Regions from separate parts of the Homo sapiens genome. Here regions 2 and 3 are each linked to region 1. The links are contacts of gene promoters, found by promoter capture Hi-C in blood cells and fetal thymus (Javierre and others, 2016). All regions are on one chromosome and are shown on one strand. The core of a region is centred on a gene start or on the middle of the fragment in contact, and the rest is flanking DNA. Distances in the headings are between cores, read along the strand shown. Region 1 holds the start of DIPK2A (divergent protein kinase domain 2A). Region 2 has its middle 300 kb from the start of LNCSRLR. Region 3 holds the start of TRPC1 (transient receptor potential cation channel subfamily C member 1).

The links. The method cuts DNA at HindIII sites, captures the fragments that hold promoters and counts their contacts. A CHiCAGO score of 5 or more calls a contact.
Region 2: a contact is called between a fragment that was not itself captured here and the fragment with the promoter of DIPK2A in region 1, in 1 of 17 cell types (endothelial precursors). The highest score is 7.2, in endothelial precursors.
Region 3: a contact is called between the fragment with the promoter of TRPC1 here and the fragment with the promoter of DIPK2A in region 1, in 3 of 17 cell types (fetal thymus, total CD4 T cells and activated CD4 T cells). The highest score is 6.6, in fetal thymus.

What each region holds. Positions count from the first base shown.
Region 1 is chr3:143,970,206-143,973,638 of GRCh38, forward strand. DIPK2A (divergent protein kinase domain 2A) reads left to right here and starts at 1,618. Exons shown (of 3, transcript NM_173552.5): 1 at 1,618-2,784. The coding sequence starts at 2,128. RefSeq lists enhancers at 924-1,504, 984-1,093, 1,364-1,453, 1,505-2,085, 3,094-3,353 and silencers at 1,184-1,233, 1,564-2,213, 2,704-2,943. The HindIII fragment of the contact is 6,379 bases long and covers 232-3,433 here.
Region 2 is chr3:145,770,544-145,773,976 of GRCh38, forward strand. No RefSeq gene overlaps it. Among named protein-coding and RNA genes, the nearest start is that of LNCSRLR, 300 kb to the right of the region's middle. The HindIII fragment of the contact is 5,024 bases long and covers 1-3,433 here.
Region 3 is chr3:142,722,406-142,725,838 of GRCh38, forward strand. It overlaps TRPC1 (transient receptor potential cation channel subfamily C member 1), which reads left to right and starts at 1,629. Exons shown (of 13, transcript NM_001251845.2): 1 at 1,629-2,326. The coding sequence starts at 2,155. RefSeq lists a silencer at 1,873-1,922 and an enhancer at 2,181-3,047. The HindIII fragment of the contact is 1,344 bases long and covers 956-2,299 here.

The DNA of each region.
Region 1 (3,433 bases), core at 368-2,867:
TTGTTTACAATTCAGCAGCAGCAGCAGCCTCACAGCTGAACTACAGCACAGGTCTCCAGAACCATCACACCAAACTCCTTTTCCTAAGAAAATCTCACTTGAGCTTTTAACTCTATATTATATGGAGTTTGGGGATATTTGAAAGCAAGTTAAATAAAATTCCCACCAAAGGCGGCATAAGGCACTAGGCAGAAGTAGCCAAACTTAAGTACAGTAAGTCAATTTCTAGAAAGCTTTGAATATTATTTCAATTTGTCTGTCCGTATTCAATGCAAATCGTTACAAAATCACGTCTATTTTGAATTTATTAAATTTCTCAAAGTTTTTTTTTCAAAATCTGAGTTCTTATAAGAATTTGTAACAAATACCTGTTACAATTAAACAATACTGAAAGTATTGTTACTTTTGATAACCTGGTATAGATGTTTCTTATTAACCCGCTGTAGAGTTGATCTACACATGCCAGTTACCATGGTCTTCTAAAAGCACTGTTCAAGCCCTAAAATTAACTCAGTTAAGACTCAGTTGTTTAATAACGTATCAGGAACCACCTGTCCCTCAGACTAAAAATCACTTCTCATTTTAACTACTCTAGCACTAAAAGTGAATAGCATAATAATGTATCTACTAGCGCTACTGCTAAACAGTCCGGGTCCCCTGAAACTTATCCCTAAACACAGTGCTTTCGTGCGGCATCTGCGCCTTACTTTTGCAGTCTGGGGTGACTGAGTCAACGTGACCGTGCGGAGCACCAAGCAGCCCCGGGTCCCCATGGCTACCGCCAGGGCAACGCTTCGCGGCCCGCTCCTCAGGGACCCTCAGGGGCGGCACCGGGAAATCAGCTTTGCGGAGAGGAACCGCAGGGCTCCGGGGACGGGCTAGGGCAGCCGGCGGGCAGCAGAGGCAAGCCTGGCAAACTCTTCCCGGCTTCTTCGCGGCGCTTGGGGCAGACGTCCTGGCGACACCAGGCCGCGTCGGTTCCCCTTCATCCTATTTTCCCTTTAACACGGTGGCTTGAGAACTTTATTTTGTGCTCACTCAAGAAAATTTTAAATGATTTTACAGATACAACCCCAAAGATGAAGCTCCAACAAACCCGCCACTACTCGAGCCTTTCTCACCGTCTTCCTCACAGGCCCCACCCCCTACCGCGAGGAGCACGAGCTGAGGGGAACACAAGCCCCCGTCGGGCACTCCCCGGCCTCGCCCCACCCCCCAGGCGCGCACCCAACCCATATAAGGCGAGGGGAGGCAATCGCGCCAGCTCTGCCTCCGCCTCGCGCGCCGTCCAGAGGGAAGGATTTGCAATAGACTTCCTCAGTTCATTTCTTCTTATTCCCTCCTCCCTTAAAGGGCCGTTTCCACAATAGTGAAAGGAACGCACCAGTAAACCACAATAATCATAAAAGATGACTGTAATTAAGACTCTTTCTGAAACCAGAAACCGCGAGTTCATGCCCCCACCTCAAGAGCCCGAGCTTCCCCCTCTCTGAACCGCCCCCACACCCGCTCCCGCGAGCTCCCGCTTACGCTTTCCGGGCGGCGCGCGACGCGCTCGCTCCGCCCCTCTGGCCCCGCCCCCGGCTCCCCTTCTTGGTCTCAGGAGAGCCAGCGCGCACAAGCAAGGGTGTGCGGCTCTGAGACGTGCGTTGCTGCTTGTGGGTGTGAGACATCCTAGCTCCTCTTCCCCTTCCGTGAGTCCCTCCTTTCCTCGCAGACCCCACTTGTCGTGGCTGGCTGCCGCCGCAGCTCTTGTGCGAAGCCAGCAGTGCGCGTGCGCGCGGGCACGGGCGCGCGACCGTCGGGTCCCCGCGCTCCCTCCCCCTCCCGCTCCTCTATAACTTGGCTGGCGTGGAGGAGGCGCCGCCGGAGTCGGAGGGCGGGGAGCTAGGAGGAGGGAGCTCGAGAGTTGTGGAGACTAGTGACTGGGAGAAGTCGCAGCCCGCTCAGGCCCGCGCCTTCCCGCTCCCCGTCTTCCTCTCTCACACACCTACTCCGCCCTCCGCCCCAGCCCGCGCGCTAGCTCCTTCTCTCGCCCGGGGTTCCTGCCGGTAGCTCTCCGGGTCTTGGCGCGGCGGGGGCGCCCCGGGGGTGCCCTCGCCCTCCCGTTGCGGGCGGGCGGGCGGTATGTGGCGCCTGGTGCCCCCGAAGCTGGGCCGCCTGTCCCGCTCGCTGAAGCTGGCGGCGCTGGGCAGCCTGTTGGTGCTGATGGTGCTGCACTCGCCGTCGCTGCTCGCCTCTTGGCAGCGCAACGAACTGACCGACCGGCGCTTCCTGCAGCTCAATAAGTGCCCGGCGTGCTTCGGCACGAGCTGGTGCCGCCGCTTCCTCAACGGGCAGGTGGTATTCGAGGCGTGGGGCCGCTTGCGCCTGCTGGACTTCCTCAACGTGAAGAACGTGTACTTCGCGCAGTACGGCGAGCCCCGCGAGGGCGGCCGCCGCCGAGTGGTGCTCAAGCGCCTCGGCTCGCAGCGCGAGCTGGCGCAGCTCGACCAGAGCATCTGCAAGCGGGCCACCGGCCGGCCCCGCTGCGACCTGCTGCAGGCCATGCCCCGGACCGAGTTCGCGCGCCTCAACGGCGACGTGCGTCTGCTCACGCCCGAGGCGGTGGAGGGCTGGTCGGACCTGGTGCACTGCCCCTCGCAGCGCCTTCTCGACCGCCTGGTGCGCCGCTACGCGGAGACCAAGGACTCGGGCAGCTTCCTGCTTCGCAACCTCAAGGACTCGGAGCGCATGCAGCTGCTGCTGACCCTGGCCTTCAACCCCGAGCCGCTGGTGCTACAGGTAGGCGCGGAGCCAGGGCAGGGGGCGTCCTGGGAGGGGCCGCGCGTGGGAATCAGAGTCGGGAGAAGTGGCTCAGCCAGCGCTTGCCGCCAGTTCGGACTCGGCCGGGCTGGGCCAGGCTGCAGGCGTGGGAAGGGGCGTCTCCGGGGGAGCCCCGGGGCTGTGCAGGGAGGCCGAGGGCGACCCCGCTGATGGAGAGTCTGCTCTTGTTACCTAGATTCGGGCGCATTTCGGATTTGACTGTGGATCTTTCAACGCCAGAGGGAGTGCGTCTCTTAACACTCCCCAAAATGTCTCTACTGCGAGTTTCCTTCCGCTCTCTACCCTGCCTTTCTGCTTTTATCTGCCGGGGCTTGCAGGTCCGCGGCGCAGACTGTTCACGAGCCCTTGGACCTTTCCTAGTTCTTCTGAAGTGTTCTACACCGCGTTCGCTCTTCCTTTTCTGGCGCTGGTGGCTGGCCTAACTTCGGTCTCAGAGTCTTTGTTTTCGCTCATTTACCTGGCAGTCATTTGGACACCTAATTCGAGGACAAGTTGGGGAGGATGAAGTCGGAGAACGGGACAGTGGTCGGGGTGGGTTTAATCTGTGAGCCGAGCTTTGGGTGGGATTAGAATCAGAAACAGGAAAAGTAAGGCAGCGTTGGACTTG
Region 2 (3,433 bases), core at 509-3,008, 1.8 Mb after region 1:
TATCTAAATTAGTTTATAAACATTTTAATTTTATTTCTTTAAAATCTAAATTACACAATATTTAACGACTATTCCTTGTACTGCCTTATTTGCATTATAAAAAAGCAAGTTTTTAATATTTCTGAGTAGATAACATCTCACCATAGATAAGTGCTTTTGCCCACTTGAGAAAGTCTAAATAGGATGAGAAAATGTTAAATCAATCTACACTTTAATTTCTTTGGTATTCTTAACCCAAGTATAGGCTTCCTATAGGATGTGATACATTCTGAGACCCAAAATGCATACATCTATTCCTGATTCAACTATCATATAATTTCAAGATAATTATTTCCTCTATTGATTTCACCATCTTTGAAATGGAAACAAACATGTGTTCACTTCTAAGTATCGGGGGAACCCGCCCCCAATATTTCAACATAGGTTCTTTCTATTTTCTGGCTGAGAAATAAAAAGAAAGAGTACAAAGAGAGGAATTTTATGGCTTGGCCCCCGGGGGTGACATCACATATTGGTAGGACCGTGATGCCCACCTGAGCCTCAAACCAGCAAGTTTTTTATTAAGGGTTTCAAAAGGGGAGGGGGTGAAATAACAGAGAGTAGGTACAAAGATCACATGCTTCAAAGGGCAAAAAGCAGACCAAAGATCACATGCTTCTGAGTGAACAAGGCAAAGGGCAAAAGCAGAACTACTGATAAGGGTCTATGTTCAGCAGTGCATGTATTGTCTTGATAAACATCTTAAACAACAGAAAACAGGGTTTGAGAGCAGAGAACCAGTCTGACCACAAATTTACCAGGGTGGAGTTTTTTCCCTACCCTAGTAAGCCTGAGGGTACTGCAGGAGACCAGGGCACATCTCAGTCCTTATCTCAACCACATAAGACAGACAATCTCAGAGCGGCCATTTATAGACCTCCCCCCAAGAATGCATTCCTTTCCCAGGGTATTAATATTAATTGCTAAGGAAAGAATTTAGTGATATCTCTCTTACTTCCATATCCGTTTGTAGGCTTTCTGCAAGAAGAAAAATATGGCTCTTTTTGCCCAACCCAGCAGGCAGTCAGACCTTATGGTTGTCTTCCCTTGTTCCCTAAAAATTGCTGTTATTTTCTTCTTTTTCAAGGTGCACTGATTTCATATTGTTCAAACACACGTGTTTTACAATCAACTTGTACAGTTAACACAATTATCATAGTGGTCCTGAGGTGACATATATCCTCAGCTTACTAAGATAACAGCATTAAGAGATTAAAGTAAAGACAGGCATAAGAAATTATAAAAGTATTATTTGGGAACTGATAAATGTCCATGAAATCTTCACGATTTATGTTCCTCTGCCACGGCTCCAGCCGGTCCCTCCGTTTGGGGTCCCTGACTTCCCGCAACACTAAGAGTGTTATAAACTTTAAAGCAGTCTTAGTTCAGAGCTGCTCATTCACCCTTCAGCATCATGAATTACTCATATTTCATTTGTGTAACACGTTCACTTTGTGGTAAAGCTGTATGTAGAGCTGCCTTCAAGTAGCAATGGCCTTCCTGCTACCTCTACATAAATTGTACTTTAGTGCCAATGTGAGCACACTGTATCCAGGTTTCATTACGGCTCACCAAGTAATCATCACCTAAATTAAAACACCACTTCTTCTGTACCATGGGGTTCTCATAATAAAACAAAATCTCATAGACCACCTCTCTCTCACGTGTTTCACATAAGTGCCACGAGCTCATTCAGTCTCTGCATTTCAAGGATTTGTCCCACCATAAGATTATCTGTCTGAGAGAGTTATTACTTTTGGACATTGTATGAGTTGGTATTATTTGATGCTCGTCAATACTATTTAATAAAACAAATTCTGAAAATTGCTTCTACTGCTTTCTTTCTGAGGCTATATAACCTTGCATTTGTTTTTAAATATTTCTTTTTCAAGAACTAGAACTTTGAGTCTTTATTTTTAGCAACTAAATTGATCAATTGCATGAAAGAAAGCAATATTTTTCACTTATTCTAAAAAAAATACATCTAATTTGGTTGACTAGCGAGATCACTGTGCTTTGTTTTAAAAATATGTGATAGCTTCATTGGTTTCTTGATGCTATTCAACAAATTTTCAATACAAACAATGTTCCAAAGAATAGAGGTAGATGAATCACTTTATTGGTCCAGTAAAATCCAATTCTATTATATACAGTTCTCCTTCCTGTTGGCAACTTTTATGACTGCTTGTGTAAAAACACCATGTCAGATTTACATGCTATACCCATGTAATTTATTCTGTACTTAAAAGGTAGTAGATTATATTTATAATGTTGTTTGAGTTGTAGCATTTATGTTACTATGTCTCTATATTTATGATTTAGTGGATGGCCTTTGAACAATTGATCCATTTCTGTTATTTAGGAATATAATATATCATTTCAGTAATAAAAAAACACACATACAAAAAGTCAAGCATAGAATGTGTAGAAATTTACCCACAAATGACTTAAAATGTGTCAGCCAAAAGGAACCACATCTTTTTAGCAGAAAGGAAGTGCTACAATCCTATAGCTGACACGTGTTCCAAGGCTATAGTAATCTTTTACTTAATTAGCAAGATGTCTGCAGAGAGAAAAAAGAATCTTCCATTTCAAATGTATGAAATGCCCATGGGTTATAATTATGAGAAACATAAGAAGCTGGAGGACCTGAGAAACCGCCTCAGCTGGAGTCTAGCATACAGGATGTTCATTAGAGCTCTTGGGATCTGTACCTGTGAAGATTGGAGAATGGATGGAGGATTGATTGAGCAGAGGGAGAAGTTGGATGTCATTGTAGTCTCAAAGGTGTGCACCTTGTGGACTGTGAACTTCCAGGTGGCACAAAGGACCTGCCTGAACACAGTGCTGAGAGACTTGGCCAAACTTTAGCCTGACTCCTACCTCCCCTAGGTGGTATTTCTAGAGGTGGCACCAGCCCCTAGGCTGAGTCTTTGCTCAAGAAAATGTAACAAAGTGCACATTGTCCCAATGTACATTGCCAAATGATTTTCAATAATTTTCCACTTATCCCCCATCACATATTTTTTCACTTCCCCATAGCCCCCAGTCCCCTTTAGTTACTTTATTTTACTTCCTTATAGCCCTTTTTTGTTCTCTCTATTTTCTCCTAGTTAATTTTGTCTTAGTTGGAAGTGAGCATAGTTTTTAATGGAGTGTCTCTTTCCTACTGCAGAAGGCTGAATAAATCAGCCTTGCCACTTTTAATAAGCGTCTAGTGCTATTAAGTATTTCTCTTTGACATCCTTCAGAGCAGTTGTGAATTGAGGCAAGAAGGCCAAGCCTTTATACAATTCCATTTATTGGCCACTGGATGTGGGCTGCCCTTACGATCAGGCATGATCTTATGTAAGGCAGTTTTCTTCAACCGTAGCAATCCTAACCCTCCCAGAAT
Region 3 (3,433 bases), core at 379-2,878, 1.2 Mb before region 1:
GGCTGGGGGCAGTGGCTCATGCTTGTAATCCCAGCACTTTGGGAGGCTGAGGCAGGCAGATCACCTGAGGTCTGGAGTTCGAGACCAGCCTGACCAACAGGGAGAAACACTGTCTCTACTAAAAATACAAAATTAGCCGGGTGTGGTGGCACATGCCGGTAATACCAGCTGGTCGGAAGGCTGAGGCAGGAGAATCACTTGAACCTGGGAGGCGGAAGTTGCGGTGAGCCAAGATCACGCCATTGCACTCCAGCCTGGGCAACAAGAGCAAAACTCTGTCTCAAGAAAAAACAAAAAAACATGAATAGACAATTCTCAAAAGAAGATACACAAATGGCCAACAAACATATGAAAAAATGCTCAAGATCACTAATGATCAGGGAATTCCAAGTCAAAACTGCTATGCCGTATGTACCACCCTACTTCCGCAAGAATGGCCATAATCAAAAAAATCAAAAAATAATAGCTGTTGGTGTGGATGCGGTGAAAAGGGAACACTTCTACATTACTGGTGGGACTGTAAACTAGTACACCACTATGGAAAACAGTGTGGAGATTCCTTAGAGAACTAAAAGTAGAACTACCATTTGATCCAGTAATCCCACTACTGGGTATCTACCCAGAGGAAAAGAAGTCATTACACGAAAAAGATACTTGCCCATGCATATTTATAGCAGCACAATTCGCAATTGCAAAAATGTGGAGCCAACCCAAATGCCCATGAATCAATGAGTGGATAAAGAAACTGTGATATATATATATATATATATATATGTGGTATATATATATGTGATATATATATAATGATGGAATACTACTCAGCCATAAAAAGGAATGAATAAATGGCATTCGCAGAAACCTGGATGGGACTGGAGACTATTATTCTTATTCTAAATGAAGTAACTCAGGAATGGAAAACCAAACATCGTATGTTCTCACTCACAAGTGAGAGCTAAGCTTTGAGGATGCAAAGGCATAGGAATGACACAATGGACTTTCGGGACTCGGGGAAAGGTTGGGAAGGGGGAGAGGGATAAAAGACTACAAAATTAGGTTCAGTGTATACTGCTCGATGATGGGTACATCAAAATCTCACAAATCATCACTAAAGAACTTACTCATGTAACCAAACACCACCTGTTCCTCAAAAACCTATGGAAATAATATGGAAATAAAAATTTATATATTTGTATAAATTATTTAAACATAATATAATTATATATCTATATATCCTTTATAAATGAGAGTTCATTTCCAGCCTAAAATGAGTACAACATACAAACCCACGAGTCTGGCTCTCCATTGTGCTTTAAAGCATAGTGCACCAGAATATGAAATAGCTGGACAATTCCACAAAGGATTTCGACTAAACATTAAGTCGTCAGAGACTCAATTAACATACTGCTCCATATTTGCTTAATTACCTTAAACCAGTACCCTGGGTGTGGAAAGGGACGATTGAGCGAAGTCTTCCTCAGACTGCGGTTCACCTCACCAGAGCGAAGGAAGCTGCAGCGGGCTCCAGGAGCCCAGTGCGTCCCCACCGCAGGCCCCACCCACCCACGCCCCGCTTGCCGCAGGCCCCGCCCACCCAAGCCCGCCCTTGCCGCAGGCTCCTCCCTAGTGTCGTCGCTACAGAGGAGCAGAGGATGACGTGAGGACAGAGTCGCGAACATCTCCTCGGAGCGCAGCTGGGCCAGCGGTTCCCACAGCCCTGGAGCCCAACGTGCGCAGAAGCGCCTCTTGGAGCTCCTCTCCCACAGATCTCTCGTCCTCTTCCTGGGCTAGGCCGCCCCAGGCGCGGCCCCTGCGACTCCTGGCACGGCCCCGTGCTCGGCTGCCGCCCTGGCGCGCGCCACACTGTCGTCCCCGGACGGGCGCGGACCGGCTCGGCCGGGGCGCCGGCGGCTGGGGAGGGGTCGCTGGCCCCGGGGCCGCGCATGCGCCGCCACCAACTTGGGGCTGTCAGTGGAGGGCGAGTGCTGGTTCTCAGGGGAGGCGACGCCCTTCGGGGCCAACGGGCCTCGAGCCGAGGCAGCAGTGGGAACGACTCATCCTTTTTCCAGCCCTGGGGCGTGGCTGGGGTCGGGGTCGGGGTCGGGGCCGGTGGGGGCCCCGCCCCCGTCTCCTGGCCTGCCCCCTTCATGGGCCGCGATGATGGCGGCCCTGTACCCGAGCACGGACCTCTCGGGCGCCTCCTCCTCCTCCCTGCCTTCCTCTCCATCCTCTTCCTCGCCGAACGAGGTGATGGCGCTGAAGGATGTGCGGGAGGTGAAGGAGGAGAATACGCTGAATGAGAAGCTTTTCTTGCTGGCGTGCGACAAGGGTGAGAGTTAGGCCCCTTTCTCCTCTGGACGCCCCTGTCCTCCAGACCTTTAGTCCTCTCCCCCGCCTCAACTTATATCGGGGCATTCCCTCTGTCTCAGGCGCCGAGTGTCTTCCCGCCTCGCCTGCTGCCTCAGGCGGTCTTCTCCTCACCGCCTCTGCCCTGTGAGTGTGGAGCTGGCGGGAGAGTGGAGCTGGGGCTGCGCCCTCGGAGCGCTGCACCGTCGGGGGTGGCTCTGGCCTTGGGGTCCGGGGTTTAGGTAGCGCCTTGGGAGCCCCGACCCCAGCGTTTTAGCGCCGCCCTTGCTACTGACCGCATGAATGACCTGGTCTTCTCTCTGGCTCGCAGTTCATTCCTTCCGGGAGTCGAGAGGCTAGTTTCCGACACTCCAGTCGGAAAATTCCGTCACCTTACCTTAGGATGCCTCGTATGGAGGGTTCTCATCACCTGGTTTTTGTTTTTCTTAAAAACAAAACCAGACCCTCTATTATTTAGCTTCACCTGACCAGTGCTTTAGCCAGTGACTGTTGACTGGCATTAATAACGGAATATCCTAGGTGGAGATACATGAAGTAAGGACGGGACGGAAGAAATTCTGCCTTAGTTGCCAAAACTTTCTCTGGATTTACGGAACGCCTTTGATTGTTAGTGCTTTTTATTGGAGAGAAAGATTTATTGCTCCCAGATCTTTCTTTGGGAGATAAAGATAGTGAAAAATAATTACAGGAATTACAAGGCAAAAATATGTGGAATATATTTAGCGCGTTATCCTTTTTTTAGTCTAGAAGTTAATCATTTTTATGGCCATATTAAGGCCATGTCACGCAATCATCCTTTGTAGTGATGTATATAACAAAAGGGATAGGAAATTGATTGCCCTAAGACTGCTTTTGTTTCCTACATGGAAACACTAAAATTTTTCTTTTTCCAAATTTATATGGCTGTACACTTAGGAAAACTCTGTTAGAAACATGCAAACTTCTGGAACAAACCCAAAGGGCAGTTTACACTATGAAAAGACTAACTACACAGGATTTTTGTTTGTTTGTTTGTATGTGTGAATGTGTAATTAATAAATGACAGCCTTCCTAACCTCTCCTCCTGCTT